2 separate regions of the Homo sapiens genome follow, and region 2 is linked to region 1. Evidence: promoter capture Hi-C in human tissues and cell types (Jung and others, 2019). All regions are on one chromosome and are shown on one strand. Each heading gives the region's core, a stretch centred on a gene start or on the middle of the fragment in contact. The rest is flanking DNA. Distances are from core to core; before and after follow the strand shown.

What was found. The method cuts DNA at HindIII sites, captures the fragments that hold promoters and counts their contacts. A contact is called where the count stands out against the background at its distance.
Region 2: a contact is called between a fragment that was not itself captured here and the fragment with the promoter of EML3 in region 1, in 1 of the 25 tissues and cell types used here (dorsolateral prefrontal cortex).

Annotation. Positions count from the first base shown.
Region 1 is chr11:62,610,830-62,614,321 of GRCh38, reverse strand. It overlaps EML3 (EMAP like 3), which reads left to right and starts at 1,547. Exons shown (of 22, transcript NM_153265.3): 1 at 1,547-1,886; 2 at 2,726-2,897; 3 at 2,978-3,235; 4 at 3,330-3,443. The coding sequence starts at 1,865. It overlaps ROM1 (retinal outer segment membrane protein 1), which reads right to left and starts at 1,065. Exons shown (of 3, transcript NM_000327.4): 1 at 451-1,065; 2 at 1-64. The coding sequence starts at 1,040. RefSeq lists enhancers at 1,071-1,130, 1,904-2,463, 2,464-3,022 and a silencer at 1,181-2,060. The HindIII fragment of the contact is 22,621 bases long and covers 1-3,492 here.
Region 2 is chr11:61,929,790-61,933,138 of GRCh38, reverse strand. It overlaps a transcript of RAB3IL1 not described here. Among named protein-coding and RNA genes, the nearest start is that of RAB3IL1, 14 kb to the right of the region's middle. The HindIII fragment of the contact is 6,912 bases long and covers 1-3,349 here.

The DNA of each region.
Region 1 (3,492 bases), core at 298-2,797:
GTTGCAACAGGAGAAAGGGACCCCATCAGTCAGGTATAGGCCTTCTACATTGCTCTGGATCCGGCTGCAAAGGGAGGGACAGAGGGGTTAGGATGTCTGGAGATAGAGGCCTGGGGGAGGGACTGAAGGGCACAGGTGTTCAGAAGGGAAAAAGAATAGTAAAACATTTACTGACTGCTGTACTATGTGCCAGCCAAGCATAATTCACATCTTCACAACAACTCTATCAGATAAGTACTATTATTTCCATTTTACAGGTGAAGGAATGGGCCCAGGGTGGTTTGGTAACATGCCCTGGGTTTCACAGCTAATAAATGGCAGAGCTGTAACCAGTCTCTCAGCCACTATGTTCTACTTATTGCCCCTCTGAGCGAGGTGGGGATTCAAGGCAGCAGGAGGGAGCCTGTCCAGGGAGGAGGAGGAGGAGGAAGGGAGACGCAAATCACTCACTCAGCCACATCCCGGTCACCGGGATCCAGGTAACGGCTGCTGACCCACTGGACCCCAAACCAATCCTTGTACCCGTGGCGCCCGCAGCAGTGGTACCTCAGTTGCAGCTCATCCACCAGCCTTTTGGCCTGACAGTGCCCAGGCACCTCTGTGTCCTTGTAGTGAGCCAAGGCAGTCACCAGGCCCTCCTCCAGCGCCTCATCCAGACTCCCAGGCAAAGCCAGGGCTAGCCCGAGGCCGACGACCAGGAGCCCCCCCCCACCAGCCGTGCCAGCCACCAGCAGCGGGCCCAGGACCCCTCGCCAGGGAGGGTATAGAGCTGCATTCAGACTTGCCCGGCTGGCTCCTACACCCACTAGTCCTGTGCCCAGAGCCACCGCGCCCGCTGCCAGGGCAGCCTGGGGCAGGACAGGGAACTGACAGGAGGGAGCCAGGAAGGTGCCAAGGTGCCTTAGCTGGACCAGGAGGTGCCCACTACAGAGGAGGATGACGCCACCAGCCAGCGCCAGCAGCCAGGAGAGGAGCCAGAGCCCTTGTGCCAGGCGGATGCGGGGCTGCAGGGGCAGCACCAGGGGCAACACCGGCGCCATCTCCCATCTCTGCCCAAGGGAATGCAGAGGTGTCAGGGATGGAAGCTGGCTGGGGCAGGATGCTGAGTCAGCCCGGCCCGGCTTGAGCTGGGCTAATGCCACCCTGACCCCAATACCCTGAGCATCCTCCCATCCTCAGCCCTAATAACCCGCCCCCCTGTCAGCCCCAATACAAGATGCCTTGGCCTTGCCCCTTACGAGAAACTCCGCCCCTAGGCCGAGGGCCCGTTTTGTGACCCCGCCCCTGCCCCTCGCGGAAGTGGTGGGGTTGGTCCGCTCAACCCTGAGGGGTTAGGGGCTGGGGGGCGGAGATATCGGGGCGGGCGCTCCCTTCCCCGTCCCCTGGGAATCCGGGGGCGGGGATCCGGGAAGGGCCTGGAGCCGGAGGCCGGGAGTAGGCCAGGGGGTCAGCCGGCTAGCCCCGCCCCCGTACTGAGCGGCGAGGCCCGGACAGGGAGGGGTTACCAAGCGGCCCGGCCCCCCCTCGGGCCCGCCCCCCCTCCCGCGCTTCCTGGCGGCTCCGCGTCCGGCGCCTGTTTGTGCTGCGGCGCTGTGGCACCGGACGGCCCTGCCACCCCACCCCCGGGAGCCGAGAGCGGCCCCGGGAGAGTCCGAGGGCCCGGGGGGGTCTGGAGACTGCGGCCCCGGGCCCACAGCGCCCCCTCCAGGCCCCTTCCCCGCGCCCGACAGCGCCCCCTCGGGGTGGTGGTACGGCGCCCTTCGCGCGCGCCCCGGGGTGCTTCCCCTTCCCCTCTCCCCGGCCGTGGCCCCCGCGGCTTAGACGCCTCCTCCGCCGCCGCCGCTCGGAGCAACCCGGGGGCCGGATGGACGGGGCCGCGGGGCCCGGTGAGTACGGGGCGGGGCGGGCGGCGTGCCCCTTCCCGGAGCGCCCGGCTCGTCGGGTTATGCCAGAGCTGGACGGCTGTCTGGAGGCGTCCCCGCGTGCTCCTCCGCCCCAGGGGCTCCGAGCATCCTCCACAGTTCCTCCGGTCGCCCTCCCTAGTTGCTTGGGTCTTGCTGTCACTTCGGGCTTCCCCAGCGTCATTCTACGCCCCACGTAACTCCGGGCCCCTCGATGTTTCCCTGCCCCCTGCGTTACTCCGGGCCTCTTCTCGTGGTATTTCAGGTCTTTTTCCTTCTGATCCCCACTGCCCCCTGAGACCTTCACTGTGACTCTGCTCACCACTCACACTCTCTCCTGTCACTCTGGATCTCTTTTCTTGTACTCTGGGTCCTCAGTATGACTCCATTCCCGCACCCCGTTCTCTCTCCTGGTGTTCCCCCGGCTCAGTTACTCAGCTTTCGCTGGAGACCTGAGCTTGCTGGGGGCGCGTGGGGAGGGCTGCGGTCCCTGCCCTCACCAGTGCGGCGCCTCTCTCTGTGGCTCCCACGTTCCTCGGCAGTACTCCATATTTCCCCCCCGGTACTCCATGGTACTCCCAGTCTTTGCGGAGGCTGAGACGGCAGCAGGAAGGGAGCTTTGCCAGGTTTCTCGCCTGCCCTGCCAGAAGGAGGCCCTTGATCCTTTACCACCGTCTCCTCCCCTCTGGACGAGCATTCAAGCCTGGGGCTGCCTGAAAGGGGCAGTCCTACCGGACACATGTAAAGTTGTGGGGAGACAGAATCCCCTCTACGCTTTCTTCAGGTGATGGGTACATTCTGAGTACCTCTTGCCCTTTTCCCAGGTGACGGCCCTGCTCGGGAGGCCCTCCAGTCTCTGAGCCAGCGGCTTCGGGTGCAGGAGCAGGAGATGGAACTGGTAAAGGCAGCCCTGGCAGAAGCCCTTCGCCTGCTGCGGCTGCAGGTGCCCCCTTCCTCCCTGCAGGGCTCTGGCACACCAGCTCCTCCGGGGGACAGGTATGCATGTCATCACACCCCATTTTTCCTCCTCCTTGGGGCCTCTGGGGCTTCAGGTTAATTCAACATCTCTCCAGCAGTCTTGCAGCCCCCCCAGGACTGCCACCCACGTGCACCCCTTCCTTGGTGAGCCGAGGCACCCAGACGGAGACAGAGGTGGAGCTCAAGTCATCCCCTGGACCCCCTGGCCTGAGCAATGGACCCCCAGCCCCTCAGGGGGCCAGCGAAGAGCCTAGCGGGACCCAATCTGAAGGAGGGGGCAGCAGCAGCAGTGGTGCTGGCTCCCCTGGCCCCCCGGGGATCCTCAGGCCCTTGCAGCCCCCACAGCGTGCTGACACGTAGGTGTCCTGTGGCCCTGTGGCGGAAGCTGGGAGGGGTGGTAGGATTGCAGAGTACAGTTGGAGGGAATGACCTTCACTATGCCCCCACCAGGCCGCGAAGAAATTCTTCCTCCTCCTCATCCCCCTCAGAGCGGCCTCGGCAGAAGCTCTCCAGGAAGGCAATCTCCTCCGCCAACCTGTTAGTGCGGTCCGGGAGCACAGAGAGGTGGGTGAGGCTTCCCCTCAACCCACCCCGCCCCAGGCGCAGGCTCTCG
Region 2 (3,349 bases), core at 51-2,550, 680 kb after region 1:
GGCCATTTTTATCCTACCACAGTTATGGTCCTATCATGGAATATTATACAGCAATAAAAATGAATGAACTGGCCAGGCATGGTGGTTCACACCTGTAATCCAAGCACTTTGGGAGGCTGAGGCAGGCAGATCACAAGGTCAGGAGTTTGAGACCAGCCTGGCCAACATGGTGAAATCCTGTCTCAACTAAAAATACAAAAATTAGCTGGGCATGGTAGTGCAAGCCTGTAATCCTAGATACTCAGGAGGCTGAGGCAGGAGAATTGCGTGAACCTGGAGGCAGAGGTTGCAGTGAGCTGAGATTGTGCCACTGCACTCCAGCCTGGGCGATAGAGTGAGACTCCGTCTCAAAAAAAAAAAAAAAAAAAATGAACTATAGTTACATAAAATAAGGTAAGTCTTGGATATAATGTTGAGTTAAAAAAAAGTTCTAGAAGACTTTATCACTATTTTCTATTTATGTCTTTGATTTCTCTTTTATTTATGTCTTTTATTTCTTTTTAATGTCTTTTATTACATTGTAAGCCCTATAAAGCTTAGAATGTAAACCTCATAGGGCAGGGCCTTGTTTTGCTCATTGCTATACACCCTGTGCCTGGAAGAGTGACTGTCAGGCAAAGAAATACCAAACAAATAACTGCTGAATGAATGAACTATTAAAATGGATATTTTTGAAGACTGATATAAGCAAATAAAAAATCTTACAGTATAACACTAATTTTTTTATAAACCAGAATCCCAAAGTGCTGGGATTACAGATGTGAGCCACCATGTCCAGCTAAGGTGGTCTTTTTCAATTTGAAAACTCATATACTTCAGTTTTGGGAAATAATCTTGAATTATTTATTTGATGCTTTACCCCCTTCATTTTCTTTTCTTTTTTTTTTTGAGACAGAGTCTCGCTCTGTCTCCCAGGCTGGAGTGCAGTGGTGAGATCTCGGCTCACTGCAAGCTCCACCTCCCGGGTTCACGCCATTCTCCTGCCTCAGCCTCCCGAGTAGCTGGGACTACAGGCGCCCGCCACCACGCCCAGCTAATTTTTTGTATTTTTAGTAGAGACGGGGTTTCACCATGTTAGCCAGGATGGTCTCAAACTCCTGACCTTGTGATCTGCCTGCCTCAGCCTCCCAAAGTGCTTGGATTACAGGTGTGAACCACCATGCCTGGCCAGTTCATTCATTTTCTTCTGTTGCTTCTTTATTCAGATATTGAATCTTCTAAATTGATTCTCTACTTTTCTAATCTTTTCACTATTTTCCATTTCTTTCTTTCTGAAGGATATTCCCTCAACTGTGTCTTCCAACCTTACTCATTGTTTTCATTTCTACCATCATGCTTTTAAAAAATATATTATTTTCCAATAGTTTTTGTTGTTCTGTGAATGTTTACTTTCATAGAATCAGGTTATTATTTCATGAATGCAATACCTTCTTTTCTCATCCTGAGGTTATTAATGCCTCTCCTTCTTCCTCCTCCTTGCCTTCCTTCTCCTCCTCCTCCTCTTCACCTCCTCTTCTTTTTTCTACAGAGTCTCTGTTTCCTGCAAGTTGCTTTTCTTCTGCTTACTGGGTTTGGTCTCTCTTAAGGTAGAGGTTCTCCTTAGTTGTCTAATAATCCTTGATTGCTCATTATTAAGAGCGAGATCTTAAAAACTGATGGCAAGCATGTTGACTTTGAGCTGGATGGATATTTTGTTGGGTAACATTCGTCTTAGATCTCTCTTCTTGGGTTGGCCAGAGTCCCATAGAGGGGCTGTCTGGAGGGTAAAAGTCTGTCTTTACCCTCCTGGTGACTGAGTGAGTTGCCACTTTGGCTGACAAGTGACAGAAGAGGGTTGGAGGTCTTGGATTTCAGTGTGTATATAATCACTTAACCCTCTTATTCAGCTACTGGCCCAAAGACCTTCTGTTTTGCCTTCTCCAGAGAATAAATCTCCAGTGTTATGCTAGACTAAGAAAGGGGCAGTTGGCCAGTGGCATGGAGTAGAGGAGGGGACCTAGGGATCAAATTGCTTATCGGTTCGCTTTGATCTAGTGCTCTATACTTCAGTTACTACCAAGGCCAGTGGTCTCTGCTGCCACCAGCTCCTGATGTTTTGCTGCCTTGATGTAGCCGTAGTTCAGAGACATTTGTTGACATCTCACACCATAATGATAGATGTGTCTATTTTCCCCTGTAGCTTTAATTATTTTTGCTTTAAATATTTTAGGCTATTTTATTAGGCACATATTAATTTAGATGGTTATATCTATCTGGTGAATTTTTTTTAAACATTGTCATCACTTTATTATTACTGCATAGTGACCACCTCTACACTAATAATGTTTTTCGTCTTAAAGTTTGTTATTAATTTGGTCTTTTTAAGACAGGGTCTTGCTGTGTTGCCCAGACTGAGTGCAGTGGCATGATCACAGCTCACTGCAGCCTTGACTTCCCAGGCTAAAGTGATCCTCCTGCCTCAGCCTCCCAAGTAGCTGGGACTACAGGCCTGCACCACCACGCCTGGCTAATTTTTGATTTTTTGTAGAGATGGGGTCTCCCCATGTTGCCCAGGCTGGTCTTGAACTCCTGAGCTCAAGTGATCCTCCCTTCTCAGCCTCCCAAAGTGCTGGGATTACATGCATAATTCACCATGATTCGTCTTAAAGTTTGGTTATTAATGCAGAAATACCACCTTGCTTTTGGTGTAACTTTTTCAAGCTCACCCTTTCCATATCCTTATGCTTAGGTGGTCAAATATGCCTTTTTAAAAAATATTTTGAACATTTTTAAGTATATAGTTTAGTGACATTAATTACATTCCCATTGTTGTGCAACCATTATCCATCTCTAGAACATTTTTTATCTTCCCAAATGAAACTCCATACCCATTAAACAAATATCACCTCCCCTCCATTCTCTATTTTCTATTCTTGATTTCATAGACCTTATAAGTCTATGCTTGGCTGGGAGTGGTGGCTCATGCCTGTAATCCCAGCACTTCAGGAGGCTGAGGCAGGTGTATCACTCTAACCCAGGAGTTTGAGACCAGCCTGGGCAACGTGGCAAAACCCTGCCTCTACTAAAACCACAAAGATTAGCCGGGCATGGTGGTGGCATTCGCCTGTAGTCCCAGCTACTTAGGAGGCCGAGGCAGGGGAATCACTTGAACCTGGGAGGCAAAGGTTGCAGCGAGCCGAGACTGCACCACTGCACACCAGCCTGGGCAACAACGGAGTGAGACCTTGTCAAAAAAAAAAAAAAAAAAAAAAAAAGCCGGGCGCGGTGGCTCATGCCCATAGTCCCAGCACTTTGGGAGGCCGAGGCAGACAGATCACTTAAGGTCAGGAGATCGAGACCATCTTGGCCA